Regions from separate parts of the Homo sapiens genome. Here regions 1 and 2 are each linked to region 3. Evidence: promoter capture Hi-C in 16 types of primary human blood cells and fetal thymus (Javierre and others, 2016). All regions are on one chromosome and are shown on one strand. The core of a region is centred on a gene start or on the middle of the fragment in contact, and the rest is flanking DNA. Distances in the headings are between cores, read along the strand shown.

Region 1 (2,721 bases), core at 23-2,522, 1.5 Mb before region 3:
ATTTTCCAGGTTTTCTTATGTCTTAATATAGTAATCATACAATACTTGTCTATCTTTTAATAGTTGTATGAGGAGTTTAATATACATGAAGTGTTCCAGAAACTAAAAGATAGCCAGTCTTCTAGTATTGATGCTGCTAAGTTATATATTGCATGTGACTCTTTTCTAGATCATTTGCATATCTTACAATTAAAGACAGAATACCACAGATCTTAACTAAGGTTATTGATACATTGCATCGACATAAAAGTGAATTTTTTGAGAAACACGGAGAGGTAAGAATTGTTTTAACTTTTAATTTTTTGTTAATTTCTCAACAGAAACATAATAAATAGTTCTTGAAGGTATCAATTTTCCTTTAAATGTAAAAATCAATAGATGGGCCAAGTATTTATTTGTTTTTAAGGTAATACATTGAAATGAAGATAGAACAGCCAATCTTCAATTTAGAAAATGATTGTGTTCCAATAATTAATTCTGTCAGTTATTTAGACTTCAGAATGTATTTTCTAATATATGCAATGTTGTAATTGGTGACTGGGCAACAGACTTGCAATTGACTTAGTCAAGTGACTAAGCAATTGAGTTGCTTAGAAGAGCTTTTTAAATTTCAAGTTTAATTTGAGTTGCAGTATTTATATTACTAATTTGAGATCTTGAGTCCTGGAAGTTCAAGCTGCTATGCAAAGCTCAGTGATATGAATTATAATTGATTGACACATTGTACTGATTCAAGTTGGGACTCATTAGCATTCAGTGCAGAATAGGACTTTAGAAATCACTTTGTCCATTCAATTAATGGATGAGGAAAAATCCAAATAACTATGTTATTGAAGGGGTGGGTTGCCCCTCCACACCTGTGGGTGTTTCTCGTAAGGTGGAACGAGAGACTTGGAAAAGAAAAAGACACAGAGACAAAGTATAGAGAAAGAAATAAGGGGACCTGGGGAACCAGCGTTCAGCATATGGAGGATCCCGCCAGCCTCTGAGTTCCCTTAGTATTTATTGATCATTCGTGGGTGTTTCTCCGAGAGAGGGATGTGTCAGGGTCACAAGACAATTGTGGGGAGAGGGTCAGCAGACAAACACGTGAACAAAGGTCTTTGCATCATAGACAATGTAAAGGATTAAGTGCTGTGCTTTTAGATATGCATACACATAAACATCTCAATGCTTTACAAAGCAGTATTGCTGCCCGCATGTCCCACCTCCAGCCCTAAGGCGGTTTTTCCCTATCTCAGTAGATGGAACATACAATTGGGTTTTATACCGAGACATTCCATTGCCCAGGGACGGGCAGGAGACAGATGCCTTCCTCTTGTCTCAACTGCAAGAGGCATGCCTTCCTCTTACACTAATCCTCCTCAGCACAGACCCTTTACGGGTGTCGGGCTGGGGGACGGTCAGGTCTTTCCCTTCCCACGAGGCCATATTTCAGACTATCACATGGGGAGAAACCTTGGACAATACCTGGCTTTCCTAGGCAGAGGTCCCTGCGGCCTTCCGGCCTTCCGCAGTTTTTGTGCCCCTGGGTACTTGAGATTAGGGAGTGGTGATGACTCTCAAGGAGTATGCTGCCTTCAAGCATCTGTTTAACAAAGCACATCTTGCACCGCCCTTAATCCATTTAACTCCGAGTTGACACAGCACATGTTTCAGAGAGCACGGGGTTGGGGGTAAGGTTATAGATTAACAGAATCTCAAGGCAGAAGAATTTTTCTTAGTACAGAACAAAATGGAGTCTCCTATGTCTACTTCTTTCTACACAGACACAGTAACAATCTGATCTCTCTTGCTTTTCCCCACATGTTATGTTAGACATAGGTCTTTAAACTTGTAGGTTCAGTAATCTTTCTATTACACAATAGACTGTAAAAGAGCATACATATACCAGTACATTTTTTTTGAGAGTTGAAAACAAAAATTTAGAGAAATGGTTGGTGATCTTTTCTCCTTGGCCAAATTGAAATGGAGCAAGATAACACACATGCAGTTTGAGTGTAATGTTCTACTTCTTTCAACTTCTTTTATATTGTCTTGTTTAAAACTAATCCTGGCATAACACAGGGATTACCTGTTGTTCCTTGTTGCTAAAATCCGGCTTAATTTAGACACTGACAATTATATTGCTGAATGGTTTTAATGTTTATCACATAAACATAATTTTGGTAACTGACATATCTTTATCACACAAGTATAATTTAGCCAAATTTGGATAGTTCACTTTAGTATTTGGTCATATACGCAAGCAAATTACCATAATACTTTTGTTTTTCTTGTTGTTGTTTTTTGAGACAGGGTCTTGTTCTGTCTACTAGGCAGAGTGCAGTGGTGCAGTCATAGCTCACTGCAGCCTCAAACTCCTAGATTCCAGCAATTCTCCCAGTTCAGCATCCTAAAGTGCTGGCATTACAGGCGTGAGCCACTGTGCCTGGCCCCATAATGCTTTTGTAATTTCAGTTTTTTCGGCCAGAGTGATCTAAAATGTAGTAATTAATGAAGTCCTAGTATATTGCTACTTGGCCTGTATGCCCGTAATCACCAGGTGACTGAAGGCAGAGTTTATTGTCTCTCCAGCCCTCCCCCATTTCACACTCTACTGAGCACAGAACAAGATGTAAATTGACACAGATAAAGTCTGCTTTTGGTAGCCTTTCTGTCCCTTTTTCATGCCTCTGTTATACCTATGGCCACTCTCCTTGGGCCTCATGTGTTCTAGCT
Region 2 (2,771 bases), core at 67-2,566, 1.5 Mb before region 3:
CCATTGCACTCCAGCCTGGGCAACAAGAGTGAAACTCCATCCCAAAAAACAAAAAAAAAAAAAACACAAAACACACACAGACACACACAAACTAAAATAACTTCTTAATGTGCTAGAAATGAAGTAGTATGACCTCTGACCACCTCAAGTAATAATGATCCTATAAATAATCTTAATAAATCATACTGATTTTAATGAGTTCTCTGTAAATACATTTTAATTCTTAACTTTGTCATCTTTATAAAGAGATTCAACATCCACTTTTATGATACAATCCTTTCAAAAGAAAATGAATTGCAAACAAATACATACTTAAGATAGTATCATAGGAAAATTATCCAATACATTTTAACATACTTGGCCCCAGGTTCAAGAAGAAGTACCTCTAGGCAAGCTTGTTACTTCAACATATCCGTGGGAGGCCAGATCTTGAGACAGATTTCCCAGATGATACTCATCTGCCGTTGCAAATGCTGTGCAGTGCATTAGGTCCTGTTCCAGGGAAATGAGCATAACATGGGTTACCAAGAGGCTGAAGCATCTGTGACGGCTGCTGAGCACCCTACTGGACTCCATTCTGCAAAGCTAGAACTCCAGAATTTTCTTCAAACATCTCCAAGGGTGATACAAGGGATGGGATGAAGATGAAGAGAATGAAGTTACTGGGAGGCAAATTTCAGCTCAATCTTGAAAAGAACTTGCTCCCTCCCGCCAGGCAAAAAGATGGAATGGATTATTCTGAAAGGGAAGCCACACTCAACTGGTAGTATCTCAAGCACAGATTGAATGCAAAATAGAGATGATTAAGGCATCACATGGGTGACTGGATGGAATGTTTAAGTCTCTCCAACCCTGAGTTTCCATGACTCTTTTTCAAAGCAACATTAGTATTTGAGGTCATTTCCTAATTTGTAACTACTCTTGTACAGGCAGATTCCTTTAAATCCCCAAAGGAATTACAGTATTTTTACACTGGTTAACATTTAACAAAAAGGTCTGTAAATCTGAGCATGTGTCTTGGTTTGGTTTGTACTTTGTCTCATGCCCCATCTTGCCTTTGCACACATGAGGAAAGTCATCTTGTGTCTATATAAAATACAGATGGTAAGCACTATGGCTCAATGCTGTGTTTTTTCAAACTGTAAGTCACAACACATTAGTGAGTTCTGATACCAATTTAGTTGGCCCAAAACAGCTTTTTTAATAAAACTAAATAGAAAATATTACAGTGCATTATTCACAGGAAATGCTATTTTATGAAGTTTTCTGTCACTTACATGTATCTATGTATCTACTCTAGGTCGCTATGTATGTAAAATGTTAAATATATTTCTCACTATAAGATGTGGTCAATAAAGTTTGAAAGCTATTGGCATAAGAGTTAAGATTTTAGGCACAGAAGTTGGTTACAATTTTAAAAGAGTATCAGAATAACAATAATGCCTACTTTATGGGGTTGTTGTAAAGTTTAAATAAGCTAATAAACAAAGTGCTCAGGACTGTGGCTAACACAACTGTTCAGTAGTTGTTAGATTCTAGTTGGCCAAAACAAGTTTATGAGTCACTAAATCAACATTTATTCTTAGGATTTACTCCTCTCAGCTCCCCAATTCTTTCCCATTCTGTATATTCCTGGTATGAAATTCTAGAGAAGTATATATTAATTCATTCCTTCCTCCCACCTCCATTCTGTATCTCCTGGCTCTTTCTCATGAAATGGCCTGACCCCATTTGCCCTTCCTCAATCTGTTCCACAGCTCTGATGCGTGGTTTAAAGGTAGAGGAATAACAGAGAACCTGAGGATCCATGCAAACTGAAAAATCCAAAATCAATAAAGTATCTACTCATAAACAAAATGAGACTAATCCAATTAGAAAAAAAGTCAGACAAGCTGAAATTACTGGGGAATGTGGGGATAAATGGATGTAGTACCCTAATTATGAGCAGATAACTGCTAATTCCTTCCAAATTAGCTAATTCCCATAGTCACATATGAAAGTAGGAACACGGGGATATACAAATAAAAATGTATCAGGAGTTACCAGAGTACAGGGAACAGGCACGTGCTTAAGGTTTAGACCTGTGAGCACTAGTTCTTTTTAAGGCTTCATGGAGTTAAAACTAGCTGATGTACGATGTGTGTAAAGATTCGGCCAGCTGAAAGAAAGGAATCCTAGCAAGGGGCATCAGGCGAGACATCGGGTAGGCTCCACTCTGCAAGACCTGGCAAATTCACTCAAGCTTGCTAGGTGAAATCACAGTACATTAGGTTGGATGTCAGAATTACTTCTGTGATGGCTACAGCTCATGTGCTTAGTTTGGGCTGAAGTGGGAAGAGCAAGAGGCACAAAAAGGAGATAAGCAGGTCACAAGCTAGTCCACTGAAGGATCTTCCTGTAGCTGTACTGAAAATGGCAGAGGCTGTCTCTTTTGCTAGAATCGGAGTTGTAAACTGGCAGCTCGGAGAACCATCCAACTCAAGAGTTGACCTACATCACGTTTCTAAAATTCAAATTGACTTGTCAACAATAAACTGAGAGATTTCACACAAAATCCAGATTTCCATCATCATCTGACCGAGTGGAAGATCTGGCTATAATAATGGACTAGGATAGAGTAGGGGGGCCCAGGGTCTCCAGCCCACACTGTCCCTGCCTCTCCCTGTTGTCTCACGTCTGCTTCACCATCATGTGGTACTGGCCAAGCCCATCTGCACTAAGAATGTGTACTACTTTTTTTTTTTTTTCCAAAAAAAACCCAAAAACCTTGG
Region 3 (2,700 bases), core at 87-2,586:
ATGGTAGACTGACGATCCAGGATCTTCTAGAAATATATTTAATCTATTAAAATTAAAATTAAGTATTTTTTTCTAGAGTTCTTTTTTAATAATAGAGTCATTACAAAATAGTACAATGCCGAATTGCTAAATTTTTTCATTTTGGGTTATTTCTCAGGTAAAAATAAGTGCATATAGATTTTATTTAGAGGTAGCAACAAAGAGGATAAAAATAAGCATTTGAGTGCATTCCATTCTCTGCAAGCTTTGAAATAAAGGACTATCTAATTCTTCATGAGTTATCGGGAAAAAGTCACCAATTCTTCGATTCTTACAAAATCATCTTAATACTATGGACAAATTCAAGGTTCGTAGTAAAAATTGCTTTTTTTAAAGTCTTCCCTTTCCACTCCAGGCCCTGAGACTGGGTTAACGGGCAAAGGGAGAAAAAATTGGGAAAAAGTAACGTTTTTGTTTGGATGTCCCAGTTGAGTTTGGTCCAATGAGTTGGGGGGGTGTCTCTCCATTTGGCGGGAGTGGGGAGGGAGACCCTGGAACTCCTGAGGGATCGGTGGGGCTGCCCCTCAGGGCGCGGGACACGCGGAGGAGGCGGGAGATAACCGCGAGCGCGATCTCCCGCGCCCGCCAGCAAGGCTGGGACCGCGAAAAATCGGGGAAACTGCCTTTGGCTGTGAGGGTGCGGGGCAGATGTAGAAAAGGGGCGCAGGGGGAGAAGGTGAGGCACCTGGCCAGGCCCTGGGGGCTTCTCGCTCGCAGCCCTGTCACCGCCGGGGGCCCCGGGGTGGGGGAGGGGAGGGGCATTTGGCGCCTATTCAAGCAGGGTGGGGTAGGTGGGTCTTCCGAGGAGGAAAAAGGGCGCCCTGGGATGCCACGACCCGCACCTCCCGGGGCTGGAGTCCACGGTCGGCGTGGGTGGCGGGACCCCGCGGCCCGCCATCCCGCCCCTGCACATCTGGCTCTTCTGGCTTCCCCCCGACACCCAGCCGCCCTCCTCCCGGACCCAGGAACCGCTGCCGCCGCCCGAGGCCGGGCGTGTGGCATGGCCGCGCGTCCAGGCTCCGAGGGACGTCGGGTCAGGGTCTCAGGCTGCGACCCTCCCCGTGCACCCCTCCTGGCGTGCGCGCCCCCCTCGCGACCGCTCCCCTCACTCACTATCCGAGGGTCGAGGGCGCCCGGCGGCTGTCACTGCGCTGGGGCTGGCGCTGCAGGAGCAGCGGGGTGGCCGTAGGGCGCAGCTGCAGGGGCGCCGGCTCATGCCAGCCGACGTGGAGTCTGCCTCAGGTGGAGGAACCGCTCCGGGGGCAGCTGAGCAACCTGCCTGCTTCACAGACCTGTATCTCTTAAAAGGCGCCAGCTGGTACTTTTAAAATCTTTGAATTTGGTGCCTAAATCCGCGCGGTCCAATGAGACGCGTCGCTTGCATGCGCGCACCAATAGGAGGGCAGTGGGTGGGGGCGCCCTCGTCCGCGCCCAATTGGAGGCTGCCGAGGCGGGGCCGAGCCGCGAAGCCCAGCCCCCTTCCAGCTTACCGGCTCCCCACGTCCGGAAAGATGCTACGGCCGGGGGCGGGACCTCCGAGCACGGGGAGGCCGCGGCCCGGCCACACGTGTGGAGGGTCTATCACGCATGCGTGCGCCCGCCAAGATTCCTTCCGCCGTCTTCTGGACCGGCCTCCTGCAAGTCCTAATCTCAGCCCAAATTCAGCGCTGGCTTCCATCTGGAGATCTTTGATGGGTACAAATGGTAGCCGACTTTCTTCGATCATCTCTCGAACGGGAGTTCGGTGAGCAGCAACTCGGCTCGTCCGGGAATCCAGACTTTCCGGAAGACGGACCCTCCCCCCAGTCCAGCTTAGCCCGCCTCTCTAGGATTTACGCGCGCGCTCTGCTCTCCCTCCTAACTCGACCCTCCCCTTGACCCACGCCTCTGCGCAGGCGCCTTGGCGGGCTGTGGCTGCGGAGTTGGCGGGTCGGCGCCTGCGCACTGGAGTCCCCCGCGATTTTTTCCTCCGGGGTGGGCGAGGAGGCTGTGCGGCCTTCCCCAGCGGCTGTAGCAGGAGACCTGCGGCTGCATCTCCCAGGGCCTTCCGGCGGGGCCGAGGGTAGGACCGAGGCACTTCTTCCTTGCAAGCGCGTTTATTTGTATTTTCAACCACACTTCAGACGCTACTGGTTTATAGGAACGTTAAGTTTACTGAGTGTGCAGCTACGCTCCCCTGGGTTTTTGTTCCTTTCCTTAAAGGGCCAGGTGTAGGAGACAGTAGTCCTGCTCCCAAAAAAAGAATAAATAGAAGTGCCCGCCCTCTTGGGCTGGACCCCCGTGGCCAAGGGAGTTTTTAGTGATGGCTGGCATGGACGTCAGTATGAAAGTGTACCGGAGTATTAGTGATGCTTAACTTTTCACAATTTGAATATGCACTTAAGTAGGGCAGTGCATTCCCTGAACTCAGCTTTATGGCTACAGCCCAGTGAAGCAACGGGATGTGAACTCCAAAACGGCGAATCCTCCTTTGCTGTTTCCCTCTGGTGCCTTTCTGCAGCCTCGGAGTGAGTTCTTGGCTGTAGTCAGTTTTCAGTACCGTTAGTGACGAGTCCGGTGGGGCGCGGCCAGGATTAGGATGAATCATACAAGTGCTGGGTGGATCCTGTCTTTACCTAAAATTTTGATAATTAGTTGTGGGGCGCGGCCAGGATTAGGATG

Evidence for each region. The method cuts DNA at HindIII sites, captures the fragments that hold promoters and counts their contacts. A CHiCAGO score of 5 or more calls a contact.
Region 1: a contact is called between a fragment that was not itself captured here and the fragment with the promoter of FBXO5 in region 3, in 2 of 17 cell types (non-activated CD4 T cells and naive CD4 T cells). The highest score is 7.2, in non-activated CD4 T cells.
Region 2: a contact is called between a fragment that was not itself captured here and the fragment with the promoter of FBXO5 in region 3, in 1 of 17 cell types (non-activated CD4 T cells). The highest score is 5.7, in non-activated CD4 T cells.

What each region holds. Positions count from the first base shown.
Region 1 is chr6:151,454,379-151,457,099 of GRCh38, forward strand. DCPH1 (damage control phosphatase 1) reads left to right here. Exons shown (of 5, transcript NM_024573.3): 2 at 170-275. Among named protein-coding and RNA genes, the nearest start is that of DCPH1, 3.3 kb to the left of the region's middle. RefSeq lists an enhancer at 1,024-1,781 and a silencer at 1,416-1,710. The HindIII fragment of the contact is 3,808 bases long and covers 1-2,721 here.
Region 2 is chr6:151,436,063-151,438,833 of GRCh38, forward strand. RMND1 (required for meiotic nuclear division 1 homolog) reads right to left here. Exons shown (of 12, transcript NM_017909.4): 3 at 384-492. Among named protein-coding and RNA genes, the nearest start is that of RMND1, 15 kb to the right of the region's middle. The HindIII fragment of the contact is 1,848 bases long and covers 393-2,240 here.
Region 3 is chr6:152,981,705-152,984,404 of GRCh38, forward strand. It overlaps FBXO5 (F-box protein 5), which reads right to left and starts at 1,337. Exons shown (of 5, transcript NM_012177.5): 1 at 1,153-1,337. The coding sequence starts at 1,255. RefSeq lists silencers at 771-840, 1,321-1,640 and enhancers at 1,671-1,890, 2,181-2,300. The HindIII fragment of the contact is 9,521 bases long and covers 243-2,700 here.